2 separate regions of the Homo sapiens genome follow, and region 2 is linked to region 1. Evidence: promoter capture Hi-C in 16 types of primary human blood cells and fetal thymus (Javierre and others, 2016). All regions are on one chromosome and are shown on one strand. Each heading gives the region's core, a stretch centred on a gene start or on the middle of the fragment in contact. The rest is flanking DNA. Distances are from core to core; before and after follow the strand shown.

Region 1 (7,942 bases), core at 1,595-4,094:
TACTCCCAGAGTCACTCTAGAAGCTCTGGGAGTTTCTAGACACTAACACCAGTGAAGCTTCTGAAGACAGAGTTAATGACTTTTCTATTAAAAATTAGGGCTAGGCGCAGTGGCTCACACCTGTAATCCCAGCACTTTGGGAGACTCAGGCAGGAGGTTCACTTGAGGCCCAGAGTTTGAGACCAGCTTGGCCAACATGGTGAAACCCCGTATCTACTAAAAATACAAAAATTAGCTGGGCATGGTGGTGCACGCCTGTAATCCCAGCTACTCGGGAAGCTGAGGCAGGAGAATCACTTGAACCCAGGAGTTGGAAGCTGCAGTGACCTGAGATCCTGCCACTGTACTCCAGCCTGGGCGATAGAGTAAGATCCTGTCTCAAAAAAAAAAAAACTTATTTGCCATTCATACTTGCATCTATAACTTTCTTGATTTAAGGAAGTTAGATTGGTAGTCTTAATTAGCACTGTCTTTAAATTTTTTGTCTTTATTCATAAAGTCAAATTGAGATCGAATTTTTGTGCATTGCCAATTGAAGAGTACCTCTGAAAAAAATCAGTAAAACCCACATTATTTTGCACTCTGTCTTTGAAAACAAATTTACATTTTTACCACTTCCTAGAAGGAAATGGTCAATTTTTTAGATTTTTAAAACCAACATCAGCCAGGTGCGGTGGCTCACACTTGTAATCCTAGCCCTTTGGGAGGCCAAGGCAGGTGGATCACCTGAGGTCAGGAGTTCGAGACCAGTCTTACCAACATGGAGAAACCCTGTCTCTATTAAAAATATAAAATTAGCTGGGTGTGGTGGCACATGCCTGTAATCCCAGCGACTCGGGAGGCTGAGGCAGGAGAATCGCTTGAACCTGGGCGGCAGAGGTTGCGGTGAGCCAAGATCGCGCCATTGCACTCCAGCCTGGGCAACAAGAGTGAAACTCTGTCTCAAAACAACAACAACCACCACCAATATTTGCTGAGCAACCATGGTAGACAAAGCTGTACACAGATCCAAATAGATGGCAAAGGGAAGAAAACCCTTGACAGACACTAAGCAAACGTCAGAGTGTGTATCAAACTGAAGAGGAAGGGCCAAGGAGCAAAATGACCAACAACATTTTTAGCAAGCCATAATGACATGGTCTTTCTTTAGAAATTGCCATTGCATAACTTCCCAGAATATTTTCAGACACAAAGTAAAAGTAGAAATCAGTACTTACCTCTAAAACAGGCTATAATATGCACAAAAGTTATATGCAATAAAACAGCCTTCTTATTGTTGGTGGTAAGTGGGCATAAATGTAGCTGGCACACTTTTACAGAAAGAGGCAGAGTTCTCAAGTTCATCTCCTTGAGACTTCATTCCTTTCCTGCATTAAACAATGGCAGCATCCTGTAGAGTGAGCCAAATCTTCCCAAGGCTTCATTATGACTAAAGAAGCCCAACTTGAGGGTGCAAATGTTTGGGTTTGGTGGTAAGCAGAGTCCGATATTGCCACTTCCTTTTCTGGGTCTGCCATGAACCCGGTGTTACAAGAGCAAATCACTTCAACTTCTCACTGAGTTTTTATCTGTGCCACAGGTGCTGTTTAGAGGTATTCCAATAGAAGGAGCAGTATACTGAAGAAATCAGTTAACTCTGGCAAAGAACAGGTGTTCAAGGTGCAACAGGAACACCAAGAATCATTACTGACTCAAAGTCTCTTGTGTGTGCCAAAAGTCAGTGATAGGAAATTTAATAATTAATTCCTCTACCTTTTTTTTTTTTAAGACTTCAACTGCCGAACATCCAGCTAAAGCTTTCCACAGCTGAGGAGCAAGGTAGACCACAACGTACTAGAATATCCTTTTCTGAAGATTTACGTGCAAGTTAAAATGTGTAATTTAATATACAAACATACAGCAGAAAACTTCATGGTTAGTGTTGGAGTCAGCAAGGCTGGCCTAGAAAAAGCTGGACCAGGAGCAAAATTTACAGGGGTGCGAAAACACTCAGTAATCAAGACAAATAATATTTTAATGCAATATTTTTAAAATTCAAAATTAATATTAAAAAATCCACGATGAACAAATCATCACATTATAAAAAATAATTTTAAATAAAGATGTGCTGCACATAACAACATAAGAGCTAGAGGCAAATGAAAAAAATCAATACCAATCTTGTCTTTATTTAAAATTTTGATATTTTCTTCATCATTTCTTTTTTGGCATTGGTTCTGAGTCCTTTAGGTATTGCATTAAAGTATTGTTCATCTTGATTACTGAGATTTTTGGCGGCCCCTTACATTTTGCCATCAGTGCCAGTGTCTAGCTCAACTCACCCTAGTCAGTGCCCTAAGAGTCAGTACCAGTTCCTAGAAAAGACTGCAGGAGCAAACCTGGCCACCTGGGGACCTCAGTGGTGTGGGCCGATTGTCCCCAAGGGAAAGGCTAGAGGCAGATGGGCTCCCGCCTGTGGGCCAGACCCCAGCCTACCTCGCTTATTCTGCGTGCCGTGCTTCTTGGCCAGGGCGATTTCTCTCTGGATTCGATTTTCCAGGTACTCTTGTTTCTTGCCCAGCATCTCCTCAGTCTCCCGAAGTCGGACCAGGGCCTCCTGGGGACTGGGAGCGGCTCGGCTCTTAGAAGAGCCGCCCCCTTTAAAGAACTTGCCCAACTTGCTCATTGCTGTGGAGTTCGGAGGGCCAGCGATCCCGGGGGCCTCTCGGGAGCTCCCCGGGGCCGCGCCGAGGGGACAGGTGAGCAAGGCAGTCCTCTCGGGGACCCAGACCGGAAAGGCGGCCCTCCTGGGAATCAACAAGTCGTCCTGGACAGGTGACACACACTCCAGGGCATTTCCTGGCTGCCAGTTCGGCCCCGCCCCGCTGCACAGCGGCTGGGCGGGGAGGCCACCGCTGGGACGTCGGCTGGCCGGCGCCACCCGGCCCTCTGGGAGTTGAGCGAGAGCAGAGAAAAGTTGAAAAGACCGACAAAGACTGTGGGAAGTTGGCTTTTATCCACACTAGGGACGGTCCCAGGAACGAGGAACTAGTTTGTGAATGGCTCAAAGAAAAGCAAACCGATGTCCAGGGGTCTTGTGCAGGACCTGAAAGTGTAAGTGCGCAAGACTGGATATGCAAAATGCTTTATTCCATGCGTGTCTTTTGTGTGTACGTGAGCATAGTGTTCCTGTATTCAGGCCTCTGTTCTTGTGAATAAGAATATTCAGATCTTTTCCTCTAAGTGTATGTCATGTAGGTATGAGTGTGTGGACACAAAGGCTTCCAGGATATTTGTCTGCCACTAGGATGCAGGTGTGTGGGCAAGCTCGGAGCAGCTGCTGCTACTGGGCTTGTTTCTGCATTTGGTAGTCCGGGCAGGTTGATGTGTGCCTGGATGCTAGTTGGCACAGTGTAGATTCTAGATCATCCTTACAGGACTTGAAGTGGGTGAAAGATGGTGGCCATCTCTTTTCCTAATGTCAGGACTTCTGGAGTGTGTTGGTGGTTGGATTCAACTCTATAACTAGGAATCCGAAGTTTTCTGAATGATCCTCAGTGTATCAAAAACCTTAAATGGGGCTGCCCTGGTGTTTGGCTGTATGTCAAATGCTATTACATAGATACTTAAGTAACAAAAAGTAGAGAATATCCTGGAGAAGAGAAACATTCTTTTGTTCATGCTCACTATCTCAGCCCATCTATTAGATCTGCTGGCAAATAATTTAGTAAGATGAAAGGACAGCCATATGTAATGCTTATAGATGATGCAATACTGCTGCAAACCTGTGTCAAGCACACTACAAAGAAGTGGAATTATCTGTGTTTTACTCTTCAACGATTGCCATGTGCTCTGCATAATATAGCCGTATTTGAGCAACGTTACCCAACATTACCAAAACCTATTTTTGATTGTTAGCCAGCCACTGTTTAAGAGAAAAAAAAAAAAAAAAAACACCCATTACTCTGACAAATTCACCTTGATACCCAAGATCAATAACACAATTTTGTCTGCAAGCATACAAACACAAAGCAGCAAGTTAATCTATTTATCCAACATTGGCATAGATAGCATAAAATTTTGCCAAAGAAATTGAACACTTCCATAGGAGGCTTACAGTAAGCATCTTCTAACACACAAATATGTGAACTTATCATTTCACAGTAACTGCAGCCAGCCACCTCCTATCATTTCCTGGCTGGCCATGTAAAGCATGTATGGTCTATAACACACATTTTGCTCTAATTTCATGTATAAGTTGTCGTAAGTATTGTTTTTCTTTATTATCTAAATATTTCATGAATAAGTTTTGGAGTGTATTTTCTTGATTAGATTTTTAAGGCCCTTGAGAGTTGAGAAGTAGCACATATTCTGCTATTGTTCCCGTTGCTTTTCAGTTTAACTAGCCTTTATTGAGTGTAAGGTACAGGGAATGCAAGTATAGTCTGCCCTCTAAGAGCTTACCTTCCAGTGACAGTAATAACAGCTACCATCTTTTGAGCACTGACTATGTGTCAGGCTTATCAATAAATATATGCTTATCACTAATCCTTACATAAACCCTGCAAAATAGGTATTGCTGTTTCTGTTAGACAGAAGAAGAACCCAAGGCTCAGTTGATAACTTAACCAAATTTAACAGGCAGCAAAAGTGAAAGAGATCTTTCTGTTTGAAAACGCATGGTCTTTTCACTATTTACATGATGGTATTTCCCTCTGTGCAACTTGGACTAGAGGAAAAACTCATTAAGTATTTGTTTAATTAAATAGCATGGGGTGAAGAGGTAATTATTAGGCATTATCTTTAAGGGATCCTCCAAGCATTATTGAATTCATGGAGGAGTGCATTTAAATAAGAACTTATCCAGAATACTAAGGCATTCTTTGGGGTTCGTTAGTTACTTTTTTTGTTGTGAGAACATTGGACAGTAGAACAGAGAGACAAAGTTATAACTGAGGAATTGCCTAATCCACACATCCATGGTTTCATTCAACTGATGCTTATTAGGTGTCTCTATGATCCAGGCATTGTGCTAGTGTTGGGGATACAGGTAAGAGTAAGAAACATTGTCTGTTCCAACAGAGCTTACAGCTTAGGGGAGAACACAGAAATTAAGCAAATTATCTCACAAACAATAAACTTCATAAGTTGGGGTTCTAATAAATTATATAGAGAAGTACAGGATCTATAAGAATAAATAGTAGAGGAACTTGACCTTGTCTTGGGGTCAGAGTGGCCTGAAAAAGTGATATTTAAGCTAGAATTTGAATGATGAATAGAAGCTACCTGGTTTTAGGGAAGGGAAATTTGTATTCCATTATAAGGAATTCCTTATTCATTTACCAATTTATTTATTCATTTATTCATCACTTTTAGATGTAGAGATTCAGCAGTGAATAAAAAGACAAAAATACATTCATTTTTGGAGCCTACTTTCTAGCTAAGGGAAGATGGACAATTAAGATAGCAATGTACTATGTGTACTATATTTTAAAAAACAAGGCAAAGAATGTTGGAGAATTAAAATTTTAAACAATATGTGCAAAAATCTTGAGTTTGAAGTACTAGGGGTTGAGAAAAGGTCACTGTCGCTGGCGCTTGGAGACAGAAGAGGAGAGTAGGAGAGTGTGGTGAGGTCCCTACAAAGGTAGACAGAGTCCAGATTACATAAGGTCCACATGATGTGCTAAGGATCCGCATTTTATTGAAAAAGCAAATGAAAATCAATCAGACATTAAAACAAAGAAGCTAGTCATTAATTTGTAATTCCATAGGAAAAAATAATCAATTTAACCAATTTAATGTGTAGCTCTTTCAGAAACACATGTGGTGTGCAAAGCAAGATACATTTAAATTAAAAATCATTTCCTTCCATTAATACATAAGCTCAAAGAGGAAAAGATAATACTTGCAAGCAAGTAAACCAACCAAATATATATTAGTGTTTAATCCAGCAGCAGGATGTAGAAAATAAGTTTTTAAATCACTGATTTAGAAGCCAAAAATAACACATTAATCTTCATTCAGTTCTCATCCTACAAATGTGGTTTCACAAAGAGTTCTTAGCATCTAGTGTATTTTTCATTTTCTGATCTCAATTGATCTCAGCTAATAAGAGGCTGTTGTTCAAAAGAATGATCTTGTTCAGGATAATTTACCATGATTAACAGGGCAAAGGAAACTGAAATTTATAGATCTGTTAAAAAGACCTAGTTGTCAGGCTAATTGATACATTTTGGCCACCCCTTGAAATTACGTCCACTTTTACAATGCCAAATGAACTCTCTAAGGCAACAGAAGAAGGATTGTTCTTTAAACATACTGCAGAATTCATCATCAAATAGTTATTTATTAAGCAGCTCAACAAGCATGTACAGATTCTTTTTATCAGCAGTTCTGTTTCTTAGAACCAAATATCCATCGTATATAATACTCAATCACACTTGAGTACAAAAGTAGCTATGATTTAAAAAATTATAATTTTGCAAAATTAAAAGTTTGATTACCCTAGTTCATAATGAAGATGGATGGTGCCTATGACTGGGTTTTGCCTGCATAGCTCTTTATTCATGTGTTTCATACCTTTGTTCATCCCTGATCAGAAAGAAGTTAAAGATCCTGAGGTTCAGCTGGGCATGGTGGCTTATGCCTGTAATCCCAGCACTTTGGGAGGCTGAGGCGGGCAGATCACCTGAGGTCAGGAATTCGAGACCAGCCTGGTCAACATGGTGAAGCCCCGTCTCTACTAAAAATACAAAAATTAGCCAGGCATGGTGGCGGGCGCCTGTAATCCCAGCTGCTCAGGAGGCTGAGGCAGGAGAATTGCTTGCACCTGGGAGTTGGAGGTTGCAGTGAACCAAGATCGTGCCACTGCACTCCAGCCTGGGTGGCAGAGCAAGACTCCAACTCAAAAAAAAAAAAAAAAAAAAGATCCTAAGGTTCATCAGACTTAAATGTAAACCATTTCATTTAATGGATCTAAAGTGAAATATAGCCCCCTACCTCAATGTTACTCTTATTGCATTACCTACTTAAAGTTGATTTCTAAACTTTCCTTTACCTCTAGAGTTTCACTATACCGGAGTACAATCACATGAGATTTGTACCTAATCAAGAAATACACCTAATCTCTCCAATCCTGCTCCTCTACCTCTTAGTTAATAACTCCAGGCTTCCTTTTTCTCAGGCCAAAAACCTTGGAGTCAACCTTGACCCACATCCCATCCATCAGCAGATCCCGTAAGTTCTAACTATGATGGAAACCTGACTGCTAGCCACCACCAATATAACTAACACCATGCTTCAAACCACTGTCATCTCTCACCCAGATTATCCCACTAGACTTCTGACTATCCTACAAACACCTTGACCCTATTACAGTCTCCCTACATAGCAAACAGATGGAGACTGAGACAAAAACCTCCAGTGACTTCCCACCTTACTCCAATTATAAGCGAAGGTCTTCACAAATGTCTTCAAGCCCCTACATGAAATAATACTGACTCCTAAGTTTACTTCACCTGTGTCTCCCTTTCCATACATCCCCATCCACTCTGCTCCAGCCACACTGGTGTCCTCACTTTGGCTGGAGTATACCAAGCATACTCTCATTGCACAGGCTGCTCCTCTGCCTAGAAACCTGCCACCAGACACCCATTTCATTCACTTCTTCACCTTCTTTAGATCTTTATCACATTTTTGTACCACCATATCAGAAACTGCAACCCTATTGTCTCACTTCTGTACCGCAAAAGAACTCTAATCCTCTTTCTCAGCTTTATTTTTCTCCATAGTACTTACCACTAACTATCTTACACTGTTTCACATTTTTAAATTTTTATTTTCCATTGCTTCCCCACCACCCCTAGAATCCTGGCCCTGAGGGGAGGAATTTTTATTTGTTTTATTTTCACCAGTATTTTCCCAGTTCCTATAACAGAGCCTGGCACATTGTAGACACTCT
Region 2 (7,942 bases), core at 2,861-5,360, 140 kb before region 1:
CTACTAAAGATCAGCAGTCAAGAAGACAGAAGCGTGAGGATCAAATGAAGAAGCTTGAACAGGAGAAACATAAGGGTTTGTGCTGGACCAGATGAGAACCAGTACTCTGGGAATAGCCAGAAACAGCTAAGGTTCATTTTGATGACTCTCATTTCCTGATAATTAAGTTGATGGGATATTTGCCATAATAATTTGCATACAAAGATAAAGTTTGCTTTGATTTGATAATAACAGGTTTGATCACTTACGGTTCCATTATTCATAGGGTAACCATCTGTCCCTTTGCCCTGGTCACATCCAATCTATGCCTGTTATCTCAGTTTAATAATCAATAGTACTCACTTTCCATATCCACAGTCCCAACCTGAACAATAAAAATAATGTGGTCACCCTACCTAAGCCCTGCATCAATGACACAGAGAAGAAACACACAAGTTCAGAAGAAGAGATATTGCTGAAGGATAAAAGATATTACATCCTTCACTAAAGGATGAAATACGTCTTGAAGGAAGGGAGGGCTTAAACAAAGAGAAAAAAAGTAATGATTTTATAGGAAAAATGAATGGTACTTAAAAGTAAACTCAATGAGGCATACCTGCCATTTTTTGCTAATATACATTGAATTCTTACCATGTGCCATGCACAATTTTGTGTTTTTACATGTATTACAACTTTTTCTCTGTAAAATAATCCTACAGCATAAATATTATTACTAGTTTTTTAGTGCGGCATAATTTTTTAGTTAAATAGAGTCAATTTAACAAATGTATACAAAGTATGCAGTGAGGAGATGGCAAAGTAAAAATTAAACGTAGGCATCCTGGCTCCTCTGCAATAGCCTGACTACTAGGAAATAATGACCAGATATATTTTGTTAAAGTTTTTGATGAAAAAAATTGTGGTAGGTAAAGTTGGCAAGATGGATGAAAGGGTATTTTACACTATTTGTACTTTATTCCTTAAACAGTGTGGAGCTGATGAAAAGTTTTGAGAAACTGATTTGAGCAAGGCTATTTCTGGAAGATTTACATTTGAAAGCAGCATACAGAAGGAATCTGAATTAGAATTATAAGGTTGTTTTTAATCATATTGGTTTATCATCTCAAATTTATTGTTTTACCCCTTTTCTACTCATTGTTATAAACACATGTGACAACTTTAGGAATTGTTTGCAACTAAGACTTGTGGAGAATAAGATTAATAGCCAAAACACAGAAAGAAAAGTAACCATAAAGAGATGGTACATATGTGTATTTGTACACACACACATTTTTTGTTTAGAGATACGTACCTAAAACAAAGCCCCAAAGCTTGGTGTGAAAGCCTGTAGGAGAGGGTTGGGTTGAAGATGAAAGGAGAAACAAACACTAGGGCTAGAAACGAGATCAGTATTTCAGGAAAGATTAGGTCTGCTTTTTAGAAGAATGAGGCTCAAAGGTTAGAATTTGAAGTTCTGGTTCAAAACAAAGAAAATATTTCAAACAATACCCACAATTTAAGGATGAATTGACTTGATATGATTCTATGAGCATTTAACCCCCAAATTCCTCTATTCTAAATATTCAATCTATAGAACGTTATACAAAAATAGAAAAGGATAGCTAACACTGTATATATGCAGAAGATAGTATGTGTTCAGTAGAAGGAACAGCAGCATGCACTGTGTATGTGCCATAGGTAGACTGGTAAGAGACATATGAATAGATTGGCAGATCAATCAATAGATATTTTAACTAGATAGATATGGATCAATAGACAGGCAAATAAGTATTATTACATGATTTTACCAAATTTCCTCATTTCCAAAATGTGGAAGTCATGATCAAGATAATTCTATGAGTTGAAAAGCTATGCCTGAATAATGTTTGCATGGTCCATGTACTGGTAAATGGGAAAAGCAAAATGATTGAAAGCTTTAGGAATTATTTCTAACATCCGGATTTGGACAATTAGTATTTGTTCTTGAGGCTATAAATTGGTACTTTTTCACATTATTAAAAAGTCTAGTGACTACTGGAGTTTAGGGAGATCATTTTCCCTAAAAGTTAAAAAATAAATTGTTGAAAGTATTTCTTCTCCCAGATGGCACATGATGGCATCTTTATAAAAGCATCAATATTTGAGACACTCAATGTCCAATGTACTGTTTCATTCATGTTCTGGGATTGTGTTTTTATTAGTATGTATGATATGAAAATGTAGATTATATTTCTAAATTTAAAATTATATTCAAGTTATAAATTTAATAATTAATTTCCTGAAACTTTTATGAAAATAAACCCATAAAATCATAAACATTTTACCCTAAATATTTATGCAATATTTTATGTATTTATATAGTTTCACTTCCTTTGCCTAGGTAGTTTATATATCATAGTGGCCCAAATGAAAATTCTGGTAAAGAATCAGATACCTGGCCAGTTGTGGTGGCTCATGCCTGTAATGCTGATACTTTGGGAGGCCAAGGCGGGCAGATCACTTGAGATCAGCCTGGGCAACATGGCAAAACCCTGTCTGTACAAAAAAAAAAAAAAAAAAAAAAAAACCCACACAAATGAGCTGGGTGTGGTGGCACATGCCTATAGTCCCAGCTAATCAGAAGACTGAGGTAGGAGAATTGCTTGAGCCCAGGAAGTCAAGGCTGCAGTGAGCCAAGATCATGCCACTGCACTCCAGTCTGGGCAATAGGGTGAAACCCTATCTCAAAAAAAAAAAATCAGACACCTATCTTCTAATGTCTATATGTATATTATTTTGAGGAAAAAAATGAATTCTGCAGATAAACAATACGAATATTTTCACTTTTTAAATCATTTATTTTAGTGGAAGGACAACTGAAGTTTTTTTTACTTGTATTTTTTTGTTATATAATGAGGTCATTATTTCCAGAGAATAATTCCTCTTTCTAATTGCCTGAAACCACTGTCATAATAATTTGATTTAGATAGGAAAGAAACAATCATAGTCTCTTTTCAATTAAGAGACATACTTTATTTTCCAATTCATCCATTTTCCTCATCTTCTCTAAAACTCATTACAACCTGAACAATTTTATTCATCCCAAACAACTTCTGAAAACACAGTCAAGGGTTACAGTATAATTGTGAAGTTTTAATGTTGTCCCTTATCTTTTTCTTGGAAAAATTTATATTAATAGGTAGAAACTCCAGCTTTTTTTTTTTTTTTTTTTTTGTGATGGAGTCTTGCAATGTTGCCCAGGCTGGAGTGGAAACTCCAGTATTTTAAAGTATTTCTGTAAAGCAGTACATTGGCTATGAAAATAAAATACAGAAAAACCATGGCTTTTTTCCAGATATAACACTATTACATATATTTTGGAACACCCGAATATATCAAGAAACAATGATTGTTGTTATGCCAAAGTATATTTTCACCAACTAAAAGAAAACATTCATGATCCACCAACTGAGGACAAACAAACCTTTTATGACCTAGAACCTGGAGACTGGATCTTTTGGAAATGACACCGGAGAAAGACTGCTCTTGAACCCCACAGGAAGGGATCATCCCAAGTTCTTCTCACCAGCCACACTGCAGCAAAATTTTAGGGCCTTGAGTATTAGGTCTACATTTCTCAATTCAAGAGAATCTCTCCAAACTCTTGGGACTGTACTCCTGTTGGAAACCTCAAGATAACACTTACCAGAGAGGTTTCTCCTCAGAGTCAGACAACATCCTAGGTGTGGACAGCTTTTCCAAGGTCACAGATCAAAATTTCTCTCCTCTGTCATCATGAAACCTTTGTTATTTTTCCACTTTGCCCTGTGTTTCTTTTCTGCTTATATGTGGCAAGCTAATGTGATAATTAAGGCTTCTGTGATAATCAACAGCTTCCACAGAGAAATGCACTAAATGTTGGATATGTCATGTTAAACCTAAACCCTTACGTGATTTTAGAGATCCTTAAGTTTACCCTGTAACAAATTTCACCATTATTTTCAGTGTGACTATTTATTCAAATTTCACATCTGGTGCTTTCTATAACGTGAGGCTTTTAGAGTCAGATATTCAAGTTCCATGTTTAAATCTAACTGTTTAGATCTAACAATAGGCAAAACCCATAGTGAGGGTTTTGTAGTTAAAGTATGCCAGAAAATAAGAAAACCAAAAGAAAGATAATTTGAAAGTTTATAGACAAATTTATAACCCCAATTCCTTAACTGTCAGTAGCTTCCAACCATGCAATAATGAGGTTGGGAGTTCGAGACCAGCCTGACCAACATGGAGAAACCCCATCTCTACTAAAAATACAAAATTAGCGGGGCATGGTGGCACATACCTGTAATTCCAGCTACTCGGGAAGCTGAGGCAGGAGAATCTCTTGAACCTAGGAGGTGGAGGTTTCAGTAAGCTGAAATCACACCATTGCACTCCAGCCTGGGCAACAAGAGTGAAACTGTCAAAAAAAAAAAAAAAAGAAGAAAGACAAAGAAGCCTTGGATAAATATTACTACCATTGCTTCCCTACTGGTAACCTCTAACACACAGGCATCCCGCAGGGAACTACCTATTGTGCCCTTCCAGGAGATATTTTATGTGTGGAGCATTTAATCATCAACTGCATGCATGGACAACTTTATATCTCAATAAGTGGAAAATAAGAGGCCAATGTGGATTAGAAGTTCTAACAGTACTATTGTCACTCCATAACCAATTGGAAACTAAATATTGGTCTACACCTCTTAATTTGTTCTATAAAATAAAGAGGAATTTGTCAGCAGTCATAAATATCTCATGTAGAGAGATCTTGAGATTTAGAGAGCATTTTTGGTAGAATACTCCTTCCCTGGATTGGCATAAATGTAAGTAAAGTTATTATTAAAATTCTGTCTTAAACATTAGCTACTATATCTGACTCAACTGCAAAGGCTTTAGTTGCCCAGCAACCTTTTAAAAATCCTCTTGCTAAGATTGTTTTAGATAACGGCATTGCTTTGGACTACCTGTTGGCTGAACTGGGGCAGGGTGGGTGGGGAGGCTGGCAGAAGATGGGGAGTGATGGCTAAGATCTCTTGCTGCACTTGGATACATGTGTCTGGTATGACAGCAGCTCCATTTTAAGAAATCAACAAACAAGCTACTTGGTTAAAACAAGTAGATTCATCTTCTGACTTATTTTAAAAATTTGTCTGATTTTAATTTGTTCAGTTCAGGAGAGTTCCTATTAGGAGTGCACTTTATTCAGTCTTTTGCCATTATTCTCTGATAGTTTTCATAGTAGTTTTCCTGGTGCACTGTATTTTCTCAAGAGTCTTAATGCTTGTATGCAGCTATCCACACTGCATCATATGGTCCCACTCCAGTTAGAGCAACAAAAACACAAAGAAAACAAAAAGAATCACTCGACTGACCTGACATGATAACTTGTGAATTCCATACTGAGACCAAACAAGTTCAATATGATGGTGACAAAGAGCTCCTGTGTAACTCACAAAAACAAAAGCTCTTTGGGATTCTTTCAGTAATTTTAAAGAGCATGAAATGGTCCTGAAATCCAAAGTTTGAGAACCACTGTTCTAAGAATAATCTGTAAACTGACAGCTGGTGAAAGGAAAATAATTAAGACGAGGTTGGATGAGAGAGGTGGTTTGAGAGGAAGAAGAGTTCTGAGGAATGGGAAAAGAAGCACGGAACCACAGAGAGGTTTTGTTAGTCAGGAGTAACAGCATGACCCATTGTTTTCTCTTTCTCTCATTTTCATTCCAATTCATTCCTGCTTCTTGTGCTATGCTTCTTGCTATCTGTGATATATAGATTCCAAATCTCCCTGCTATATTTCCATGCCAATACCTACATTACCACCTATCCTGACCCCATCCCCGACCGTTACCAGACAAGCACTGATATCATATGAAATTTGGAGACCAGGAATGAAGGAAACTAGATAGGGTAGGAGAAGGGAAGGGCAGATAGTAATATGCTGAATTAACCTCAGCACTTCCAGCAAGTTTTCAAAGCGCCAGTGGAGAAAGGAAAAGAGAAAGATAGCTCTACAGTGGTGTGGCTATTTATTCTTGAGTGTACATTATGAATACTCATTAAAAATTGCAAATTTCCTACCACATTCAATTAAATGGGAAAGTTTTATGAAAAACTTAAAAATTGGGAATTAATTTAAAAAAGAAAAGTTTAGTTAGTTGCCAAAGCATAAGAAAGGAAATGAGGAAAAATTGCAAAGGTATCAATGTTACAATTGAATCAAAAAGGAAATTTAATATTCTTGATTATTGATACAGGATTACAATTGAAGTTATGTAAATATATTGAAATATACAAATAAGCTTTATTAAAATTAAATATCAAAAAAACTAATTGAATATACTTTTTAAGTTTTCATTTTTAAGGACAAAGTTAGTGCTGAAACTGAGAGTACTATGAGGCAACTTGGCCCTCTTAAATACAAATGAAATTACATTTTAAATATAAACTAGTGGATGAGTTTATTTTCATTGTTATTTAAAATATAAATTCATTGGTGGATGTAACATCTGCTGCATGTGTTACTCTAGGTTTCTTAAATTCTCAATAAGTGACTTTGAATAATATTTGCTGTTAAAATCAACACTATATATCTCAGAAACCATATTATCTGACTTGTATACAATATCAATACTTTCATTTTGCTATTCAATAGATTTCTTTTAGAGCCGCTTGTAATTTTTTCTTTAAAAATATATAAATGTGAAATGCTAACTTTTGCCACAAGGTGGCTCTTCATAGACTCTAACTGTATCATCTAAGCAGCTCTTTTTAAAAATTTCCATAAAGACTATATTATCTCCTAAACGTTCTTTTAAAGTGAATATTATTGATATAAAACAAGTTTTGGGAATAGAGGAAAAATCTAAGATAAATAGTTAGATTCTTTCAATGATTTCTGGTGTGTCCACACACACACACACACACACACACACACACACAGAGAGAGAGAGAGAGAGAGAGAGAGAGAGAGAGAGAGAGAGACTGCCATTATAATGTATTTATTTAGAAGATATCCAGGCTCTTGAGTTACTGTAGCAGAATGTGGTACCTCCTAAGGAAGGCAGTTCCTCAACAAAAGGCACCCTGAACAGGTACTTTCATCACTTACTTGGCAATCCATGATTGCTGTTTCTTCTCTTGTATAGGAGCATATCTCCCATTCAATATCCGAGGAAGGATGACATATGAAATCATTCACTTAAAGAATGGCTTTACTAGCAATGGCTTTACATAGACGGAAGCCCCAAATACAAAGCATTTATCCATTAAACAAATGTATATTGGTCTACTCTATATTCCAGACAGTACAATAGATAGACAGCTCAGCATAGCAGTTAAGAACATAGACCCTGGAGCCAAATTGTCAGGACTTCAATAGTGATTACACTTCTTATTATCAGTGTGGTCTTAGTAAAATACTTAACTTATTGCATCCAGATTTCCTTATATGTTAAATAGGTATAATAATATAAGATTGTCATGAGGATTAAATAACTGAGTGAAGTAAAGGCTATAGAATAATGCTCACTATATTTAAGTGTTTCATAAGTGGTAGCTATTATTACTAGGTGCTGTAGTGGATTTAAATCAGATAGGCAAATTCCTTGATACTGCATCAATCAAAAGTCTAATTCCCTTTTACTCAGATTTGAGCTGGCCTTAGTGAAGCATTCCTAATGAATAGAATGCAGGGACTTCCAAGGCCAATGAGAAAAAGTGATATAACTTCAATATGCTCTTCCCTCTATCTTAGGATGCCCACCCTTGGAACCCAGACACTGCTATGAGGAAACAAGCGACTAGCTCCCACTTATGTGTGAGAACATGTGGTAGGCATTTTCTGTTCCTGCATTAATTCGCTTAGGATTATAGCGTCCAGCTTCATCCATGTTGCTGCAAAGGACATGATTTTGTTCTTTTTATGGCCACGTAATATTCC

The links. The method cuts DNA at HindIII sites, captures the fragments that hold promoters and counts their contacts. A CHiCAGO score of 5 or more calls a contact.
Region 2: a fragment that was not itself captured here is called in contact with the fragment with the promoter of CHMP4C in region 1 in 1 of 17 cell types (total CD8 T cells); the score reaches 5.3 in total CD8 T cells.

What each region holds. Positions count from the first base shown.
Region 1 is chr8:81,727,350-81,735,291 of GRCh38, reverse strand. CHMP4C (charged multivesicular body protein 4C) reads right to left here and starts at 2,844. Exons shown (of 5, transcript NM_152284.4): 1 at 2,476-2,844. The coding sequence starts at 2,665. The HindIII fragment of the contact is 11,241 bases long and covers 1,799-7,942 here.
Region 2 is chr8:81,869,877-81,877,818 of GRCh38, reverse strand. LINC02235 (long intergenic non-protein coding RNA 2235) reads right to left here. Exons shown (of 8, transcript NR_170320.1): 7 at 4,301-4,417. Among named protein-coding and RNA genes, the nearest start is that of LINC02235, 31 kb to the right of the region's middle. The HindIII fragment of the contact is 4,389 bases long and covers 1,916-6,304 here.